3 separate regions of the Homo sapiens genome follow, and all the other regions are linked to region 2. Evidence: promoter capture Hi-C in human tissues and cell types (Jung and others, 2019). All regions are on one chromosome and are shown on one strand. The core of a region is centred on a gene start or on the middle of the fragment in contact, and the rest is flanking DNA. Distances in the headings are between cores, read along the strand shown. Region 1 overlaps SV2C (synaptic vesicle glycoprotein 2C). Region 2 holds the start of POC5 (POC5 centriolar protein). Region 3 overlaps SV2C (synaptic vesicle glycoprotein 2C).

What was found. The method cuts DNA at HindIII sites, captures the fragments that hold promoters and counts their contacts. A contact is called where the count stands out against the background at its distance.
Region 1: a contact is called between a fragment that was not itself captured here and the fragment with the promoter of POC5 in region 2, in 1 of the 25 tissues and cell types used here (spleen).
Region 3: a fragment that was not itself captured here is called in contact with the fragment with the promoter of POC5 in region 2 in 1 of the 25 tissues and cell types used here (lymphoblastoid cells).

The regions. Positions count from the first base shown.
Region 1 is chr5:76,318,571-76,321,650 of GRCh38, forward strand. The region is part of intron 12 of SV2C (synaptic vesicle glycoprotein 2C); the gene reads left to right. Among named protein-coding and RNA genes, the nearest start is that of SV2C-AS2, 8.5 kb to the left of the region's middle. RefSeq lists an enhancer at 1,269-1,413 and a cis regulatory region at 1,332-1,349. The HindIII fragment of the contact is 6,535 bases long and covers 1-3,080 here.
Region 2 is chr5:75,715,977-75,718,846 of GRCh38, forward strand. POC5 (POC5 centriolar protein) reads right to left here and starts at 1,461. Exons shown (of 12, transcript NM_001099271.2): 1 at 1,330-1,461. It overlaps LOC441087 (a long non-coding RNA gene), which reads left to right and starts at 1,456. Exons shown (of 3, transcript NR_149046.1): 1 at 1,456-1,608. RefSeq lists an enhancer at 857-1,166. The HindIII fragment of the contact is 10,988 bases long and covers 1-2,870 here.
Region 3 is chr5:76,275,148-76,278,084 of GRCh38, forward strand. The region is part of intron 4 of SV2C (synaptic vesicle glycoprotein 2C); the gene reads left to right. Among named protein-coding and RNA genes, the nearest start is that of SV2C-AS2, 35 kb to the right of the region's middle. The HindIII fragment of the contact is 4,277 bases long and covers 1-2,937 here.

The sequences.
Region 1 (3,080 bases), core at 99-2,598, 600 kb after region 2:
CATATACCAGCACATGTGTCTCAGACCAAGGAAGTTTATGATGCAGGGAGGAGAGCCACCTTAATGGAATGAGCAACAAGGCAGCTGCAGTCACAGGGTACTTTTGGGGGAAATAATTTACATTTAAAAATTTTAAATAAGTAGATTGAGTACAAATTGAGAGCAAAGGCTTCTGGCTGAAGAGATGAGAAGCAAAGCATGGAGCAATAGAATGACACTAGATCATTTCATTCTTTCCCTTCAGTGCTTGTTGTTTAAGAGAAGGCATGAAAACATATTTGATCTGAAAAATAATGCATTAACTCATTCTACAGCTGAGAAGTCGGCAAGTCAGGGTTCTGCAAGCTCTGAGCTCCCCACCCTCAAAGGACTTTATGAGCAAAGGTGACTCGTACTTTGGGTGTCTGCAGAAGCAATACAGTTTCCTTTAAGTAAGAACAGAGAGTAAATGAACTAAAAGCCTATTTATTTTATAAACAGATAACCCCAAGGGAGAATCACTTTGTGAATGGTTTTTCTAATACAGCTGTGTCTCTGATGCATTGAAAAATCATGCCCAGCTGGGCGTGGTGGCTCACGCCTGTAATCCCAGCCCTTTGGGAGGCCGAAGCAGGCAGATTAATTGGGCCCAGCAGTTCAAGAACACCCTGGGCAACATGGTGAAACCTGCATCTCTACAAAAAAAAAAAACACAAAAAATTGCCCGTGTGCGGCAGTGCAAGCTTTTAGTCCCAGCTACCAAAAGGCTGAGGTGGGAAAATCATCTGAGCCCAGGAAGTCGAGGCTGCAGTGAGCCATGATCGCGCCACTGCACTCCAGCCTGGGCCACAGAGCGAGACTCCATCTCAAAAAAAAAGAAAAAAAGAAAAGAAAAATTACACGCTTCAGCTGCAAATATTTGAAAGAAGAATTTACTTTTCCAAGGAAAGGGTAGTCACGTTTTCTTGAATGCCGACACTAATTTACGGAGGCTGTGTGCTTTGCATCCACACCAGATTTTCATCTAAAGAACTGCCTTTGCTTGGTAAATGAAAATGGAGATTCTTAAGAAGGATTTGATCGTCTTTTTCAAAACCCTCAGATACCAGATGCTCCTAACGCATCTGCCTTTAGTCTGCCCAGGAATCTCAGGAAGTCATCCATTCCTCGAGTACAGTTTCAGTGATACAAGGAGATAGCAGCCCACATTTTATACGCTATTCTGAGTTATACCAGAGGTTCGTCGTTTGGGAAAATACGGTTATTTTAACCTAGATGCAAATCCTATCTGGGTTACTCTGCAGTTTCAGCATTGAGAGACTTCTTCATGACAGAAAAGTGGTTTCCTTTTTCTTATCAGCAACATACACTCAGGCCATTTTCCCCGGAAGAATCCAGCTTATCTTACTACTACAACATATATCTGGTCATTTATGACACTAGAATCTAGAAACTAAAATGTTAGTTTAACAAAGTGAAAAGCCAGGCACGGTGGCTCATACCTGTAATCCCAGCACTTTGGGAGGCTGAGGTGGGAGGATTGCTTGAGCCCAGGAGTTCAACACTAGCCTGGGCAACATAGCAATAGCCTCGTCTCGTCTTCCTTTTTTTTTTTTTTTTTTAAGTGAAAGAAGTCAGTCTTTAAAAAGCTACATACTGTGAGGTTTCAACTCTGTGACATCCTGGAAAAGGCAGAACTATGGAAACAGTAAAAAGATTGGTGATTGTTCAGGGTTGTGGGGAGAGAGGAATGAATAGATGGAGCATGGGACTTTTAGGGCAGTAAAGCTATTCTACATGATACTGTAATGATGGATACATGTCATTATACATGTGTCAAAACCCACAGAATGTACAACACCAATGTAATGTAATTGAACTTTGGCTAATAACAACGTGTCAATATTGGCTCATCAGTTGTAACAAATGTACCATACCAAAGCAAGAAGTTACTAGTGGAAACTGAGGGTATAAGAGAACTCTACTTTTTGTTCACTTTTTTTGTTGTAAACCTAAAGCTGCTCAAAAACATCTATTCATATTTCTAAAAAACAGCAAAAAGACAGTTTAGCCTCATGGCATATCCATGGAGGTGGGGGAGGTGGGGACGGGGTCATTCTAGTATAATTAAGTCTTCTTTGGTACACAACATATAGGCTCAAGCAATTTCATTTGAAAGTAGTTATCAGTATATTAAATCTCCTTATGTTTTTAGTGGTTGCTGCCATTACTAGTCTCTTGCTTTAAAAAAAGAAGAGGAAGAATATGAAATTAGCTTACCCTCTTCTCAAGAAGTTTCTTTCAGTCAGAGATTCTGTCATACTCTTCCCACATTCCAAACAGTTGGCAACTTTGCCTCACTTCAGGAGCCTGCATACTCTACTTTCTAGGTGTCTTAGCCAAAAAGAAAATCCGTGCTTACTGCCCTTTATTAGGTGTGATGTAACCCACAAAATCACTGGCTGTGCACTAACTCACAGACTGGATTTGTGCAGCTCAGGGAGGAGTGTTTATTCCTTTCCCATGGTGCAGAAAGGAGGATGGTTGGATAATAACCACAATAAATATCTCGGTTATGAAGAGTCCACACGTTATGGAAACAACTATCATTAGGTACAGTACAAGTAGCGATGAGTAGTTATGACTTGTCAAAGAAAAACCCACACTTACAAATTTACAAATCAAACAAAGAAAGATGTGTGCTAAATGCTGCATTTTGCCCCTTATAAGATGCATTTCCCTCTTAGGGGGAAAAAAAAAACAAGGTATCCAAAAATTGCCCTGTATTCGATGTGCCTTTAACTCAGTGACAGCCAAAAAAGAGTAAACTGGCATAAAGTCAGAAGGAAATTCATACTCTCTCATGGTGTCAGTGGTGTATGCAGGCTCATGAACAAAATTAAGTTTCAGCTGGGAATGGTGGCTCACACCTGTAATCCCAGCACTTTGGGAGGCCAAGGCAGGAGGATCACTTGAGTCCAGGAGTTTGAGACCATCCTGGGCAATATGATGAAACCCCATCTCTACAAAAAAATACAATAATTAGCTGGGCATGGTGGTGCACGCCTGTAGTCCCAACTGTTCAGGAGGCTGAGGTGGGA
Region 2 (2,870 bases), core at 211-2,710:
GGTTGCTGAGACGTTTGCTTGAACAATTTCACTGGAAAGTAAAACAATTACAGGTCTTAGTCACAGTGGGCTGAAAAATAAATGAGAGATGAGGAAATTGAAATAGAAAAGGAAGATACAGGGAAAAGTGCAAAAATAGAATGGAAACACAGGCTGGAACTAAATTGTGGAAAGGAAAGTTCAACTTTTTCCAGTGAGTATCACTGTGCATACACATGTTAAGTAAACTAAATCTCAGCATGACTGTCTTTAGTTAAGCCAATTAGGGAGGATAAAATAAGTGCATGTATCTGCAGCAAGGAATGGCTGCTTCACTGACTTCAAATCTACCACTGTGATAACTTGGTCCATTTATATTTTTATTCACTTCTTCCTTCAGGATTTGAGACCAGGCAGGTAACAGGGGTGGGGGGGGGGGGGTGCTGATTATTTAAAAATGAGCTAGTAAGTATGGTCAGATCTCAAAAATTGTTTCTTAATATGGACACACTGCAGACACAAAAAAACCCACCGCACTCTTGGAAAATATGCTATCTTCCATCTGCCCTGCTTTATGTCAACAAGGTATGAGTTATTTGAAACTCTAGAACAGTAGCATTTTCCTTACTGTTTCTAGGTTCAGAAACAAAGGAGAAAAATGAAAACTGCTTTAATGGGTGGCGGACGCACATTAGTTCACTACATTTTCAGTAGTCTCTAATCCAAGGTATCAGAAAACAAGATCAAAACTTTTGTGTGCTTCTCTGTTGCCAGAAACATAAAATAACATCTTGGTAATTATCTGGCTGACAGCAAAACAGGGGTCTGGGAATTCAAATGGAACCCCCAAGAGGCAAAGGAAGAGCGAATTAACATGCAAACTAGCAGCAGGGTGATGTCGCCTGTGCCTTTCACCAGGCCTAGCTGCACTCAAGGAAAGGGGCGCGCCAGCCCCTCCCCAAAGCAGGGACTAGAAGCAGAGGAGAAAAGCCATTGCAGTAAGCAAAAGGCCATAAGTTTTCTTCCATCACCTTCCGACCCAGCCTGTTTTAAGAAAAATCTTACTTAAGCACAACAGAGCTTTATACATGGTTATTTTTTCTCAACGTTTTAAGTGACCGGAACCTCTGATGACAGTAATCGCTCAGCATCCCTCACTCCTGCTCACTTCCTCTTCCTGCACGCCTCGGAGGGGAAACTTTGGGACCTTCCGGCACAACAGCTGAATCACTCGCGGTCTGGGGAAGAGCCCAGGGGGAGGAAACACGCGCCAAGGAACTTTAAATCTCCCTCCACTACTTTCGCCAGGGATGCAGGGACGCAGGATCTGCCCGGAGCGCTGCTACCCACCGTCGCCGCTCGCGACCAAATCCCGACTCCTCGCTCTGCGCCTCTTAGCCGCGTCGCAGCTGCAGTGTCAGCAAGTGCAGCCTCAGCAAGCACAACCGCTACCTAGACGGCAACCTGACAGTTTCAAACTGCAGGGAGGAATTAAGGACCGCCCTGGGCATTGGTCCTTTGTTTCAGCAATCTGCCGTTTGATTGGTCCGAGAGCTGGGGGCGGGGATTTGGGCCGCTGCCGGGAGAAGCCGGAATTACTTTGGAGAGCCCCGCCCCCTGGCTCCGCAGGTTGGTAGGGGGCGGGGTCCTAGGGAGCCCCACCCAGCGCCCGTGGGGATTAAATATTGCGCGTGCTCAGTTCTGTTCAGCGGCTGCAGGCTGCTAAGCGGCTCCGGGAGCTGATTTGGATAGAGGCTGTTGAGCAGGGCTGAAGTTGGCTAATGCCGTGTGCTGTTGGCTTTCAACAATTCCGGTAACCTAGATATGAGTCCTAATGCTTTCGTCTGCATAAGAACAATCCGAAATTCTGGGCCAGGTGTGGTGGTTCATGCCAGTAATCCCGGCACTTTGGGAGGCCGAAGTGGGAGGATCGCTTGAGCCCGGGAGTTCGAGACTAGTCTGGGGAACATAGGGAGACCCTTTCTCTATAAAAAATTAAAAACAAAAAAAAAATCTGCATCATCCACAGATCCCCTGCAACAGAATCACTTGGAGGTGCTTTTTTTTTTTTTGAGATGGAGTCTTGCTCTGCCGTCCAGGCTGGTGTGCAGTGGCACTATCTCGGCTCACTGCAACCTCCGCCTCCCAGGTTCAAGGGATTCTCCTGCCTCAGCCTCCCGAGTAGCTGGGATTACAGACGACCGCCACCACGCCTGGCTAATTTTTGTATTTTTAGTAGAGATGGAGTTTCACCATGTTGGCCAGGCTGGTCTCGAACTCCTGACCTCAGGTGTTCCGCCCACCTCGGCCTCCCAAAGTGCTGGGATTACAGGCGTGAGCCACCACGCCCGGCCGAAGGTGTTGATTCCTTCGGTCATGGACACCGTCAGGAAATCTGAATTTTTAACACACACTGCCAGTGATTCTGATGCAGGAGTCTGCAGACCACCCTTTGAGAAATTGCTAGTCTAGGCTGGGCGCGTTGGCTCACGCCTGTAATCCCAACACTTTGGGAGGACGAGGCAGGCGGATCACCTGCGGTCAGGAGTTCGAGACCAGGCTGGCCAACATGGTGAAACCCCATCTCTACTAAAAATACAAAAATTAGCCGGGTGTGGTGGCTTACGCCTGTAGTCCCAGCTACTCCGAAGGCTGAGGCAGGAGAATCCCTTAAACCCAGGAGGCAGAGGTTGCAGTGAGCCAAGATATCGCCACTGCACTCCTGCCTGGGTGATAGTGAGACTCTGTCTCAAAAAACAAAGAAAAAACCAAAATTGGTAGTCTAGTTTTAACTAATCTCAAACGTGTCAGACTTCAAGATAGAGCCTTCTGGTGAAGTATTGGCCTTAGAATCAGATCATAATTATAATCTAGCTTTACCATCTACTCGC
Region 3 (2,937 bases), core at 326-2,825, 560 kb after region 2:
TACCAAAAACTATTTCATTAATAATATCACATAACCGACAGTCAAATACAGATCAGTAGGCCAGGTGCAGTGGCTCACGCCTGTAATCCCCGCACTTTGGGAGGCCGAGGCGGGCAGATCACGAGGTCAAGAGATCAAGACCATCCTGGCTAACACGGTGAAACCCCATCTCTACTAAAAATACAAAAAATTAGCTGGGCATGGTGGCGGGCGCCTGTAGTCCCAACTACTCGGGAGGCTGAGGTAGGAGAATGGCGTGAACCCGGGAGGCAGAGCTTGCAGTGAGCCAAGATCGTGCCACTGCACTCCAGCCTGGGCAACAGAGCGAAAGTCTGTCTCAAAAAAAAAAAAAACGAACACAAACAAAAACAAAACAAATATAGATCAGCAAAGTAGGTGTCAAGTCCCCAGGGGATCAGGGACAGAGCCCAGACAAGAACATGAAAGCCAGCATCCTTGTATGTGTGTCACATACCTCTGCCTTGGCACCTTGAAAGGTTTCAGACAGTCAGGCAACTGGGGAGGCAGCTGTTTTCTGCGGTCACAGAGCACATCAGCTTAAGGCTGGTAAAAAGCTTTGATTATTATTCATGACATATAATACTTTTATTAGCTCCACACTGATTAGTGCTGTGCTAGAACTGCTTTCTGTAAAATTGAGATCCTTCCTTGCATGGAACTTATATTATCTGTAGATAAATTCCTCGGTATGACATTTGAATGTCTTAACATTTGAGTATCTTAACAAAGTCCAAAGGATAATTAGAATCATCACTCATACAAGACATATTTTGAAGACAAAAAGGTGTGGTGCCAATATAAAAGGTTCATTTAAAAGAATCCATTTTACTAACTGCAGGTAAGTATCCAAAAGCAACAACCCACTTTCCCAGTTGATTGTGGCTTGTTTTCCCATTCCTGTCCTTTATTCCACGTTGCTGTCTCTCCACTTTCTGATTTTGTAGTGTAGGCTTTGTGTAGCTCTCAAATTCAAATTTAAGCCACTTAAAATGGAGCTCAAAAGCAGGTCCTGAGAATTGATGGCTGAGTAGTGATGGTTGTCAGTGTTTTACACCTTCGTTCTTATATCTATGTTTAACCCAGAGAATGGTATCATAGTTTTACAAAGCATTTGCAGGGTCATTTCTTGAGGCCCTCATGGTGTCTATCTCTCATTCAAGCCACAGGTTATCACCCATCAGCCTTTGACCCTGCCCCCTGCTATGGGACATGCCACAAGGCAGGAGGAGTACCCAACACCCTTTCCAGGACTCCCTCTCAGGGCTCAAGTGATCCTCCCACCTCAGCCTCCCAAGCAGCTGGGACTACAGGCATGTGCCTGGCTAACTTTTGTATTTCTTGTAGAGACGAGGTTTTGCCACTTTGTGCAGGCTGGTCTCGAACTCCTGACCTCAGGTGATCCACCCACTTCAGCCTCCCAAAGTGCTGGAATTACAGGCATGAGCTACAGTACCTGGCCTTTTCTTTTTCTTTTTTTTTTTTTTTTGAGACAGCATCTCACTCTGTCACCTAGTAGCTATGACCACAGGTATGCACCACCACAACTAGCTTTTTTCTTCCTTTCTTTCTTTTCTTTTTTTTTTAGAGATGAAGCCTTGCTATGTTACCCAGTCTGGTCTCAAAATCCTGTCCTCAAGCAGTCCTGCTGCCTTGGCCTCCCAAAGGGTTGGGATTACAGGTGTGAGCCAACACATCTGGCCTTGTCTGTTAACATATCTGCCTTTTTCAATGGATTATAACTTCCTTGAGATCAGGGAATCAGTCTCCATATCACAGCATTATGACAGGCACATATAGGCACTAAAGTAGGAATGAATGAACAAAAAGTAAATGAAGATATCACTAGGCATTAGGGAAACACAAATTAAAATTGTGATGAGATACCACTAGATACCTATAAGAAAGGCTAAAATTTAAGAAAAGAAACCTAACAAGTGAAGGGAAAGATGCGAAGCAGCTAGAGCTTGCATACACTACTGGTGGGAATTCAAAATGGCACAACCAGTGTGCAAAATGGTTTGGCAGTCTGCTGTAAAGCTAAACATGAGCTTATTATGTGACTCGACCATTCCACTCCTACATATTTACCCAAGGAAATTTTGGGGGCACACAGAAACCTGTATGAAATGTATATAGCAATTTTATTCATAATCACCCAAAACTGGAAACAATCTAAGTGTCCTTCAACTGGTGAGTGGATAAACTAAATGTGATATATTTACACAACGGAATACTACAACACAATGAAAAAGAACAAACCACAGGTATGTGCAACAGTTTGCATAAATCTCGACTGTAACGCAAAGTGTAAGAACCAGACCAAGGCTGGGCACAATGGCTCACACCTGTAACCTCAGCATTTTGAGAGGCCGAGGCAGAAGGATGGCTTGAGCCCAGGAGTTCAAGACCAGTCTGGATAATATGGTGAAACTCCGTCTCTACAAAAAGTTAGCCGGGCATGGTGGCGCTTGCCCGTGGTCCCAGCCATTTGGGAGGCTGAGGCAGGAGAATCACTTGGGAAGCCAAGGCTGCAGTGCTGAGATCACGCCACTGCACGCCAGCCTGGGTGACCTAGGAGACCTGTCTCAAAAAAAAAAAAAACAGATTCCAAAAGCTATGTACAATATGATTCCATTTATATGATATTCTAGAAAAGACAAAACTATAGGGACAGACAAGAGATCAGTGATTGCCAGGGGTTAGGGCTGGAGGAAGAGGTGACTCTCAAGGGGCAGCAGGAGGGAATGTTTTGAGGTAATGAAACTGTTCTGTGCCCTGATAATGATGGTGGTTACATGACTCTGCATTTGTCAAGCTCATAGAACTGTATAACTAAAAACAAATAAAGTTTTACTCTATGAAGATAATACAAACTTAATTTGAAAAAGTGAATCAAGGTTATTTTGCTGTTTAGTG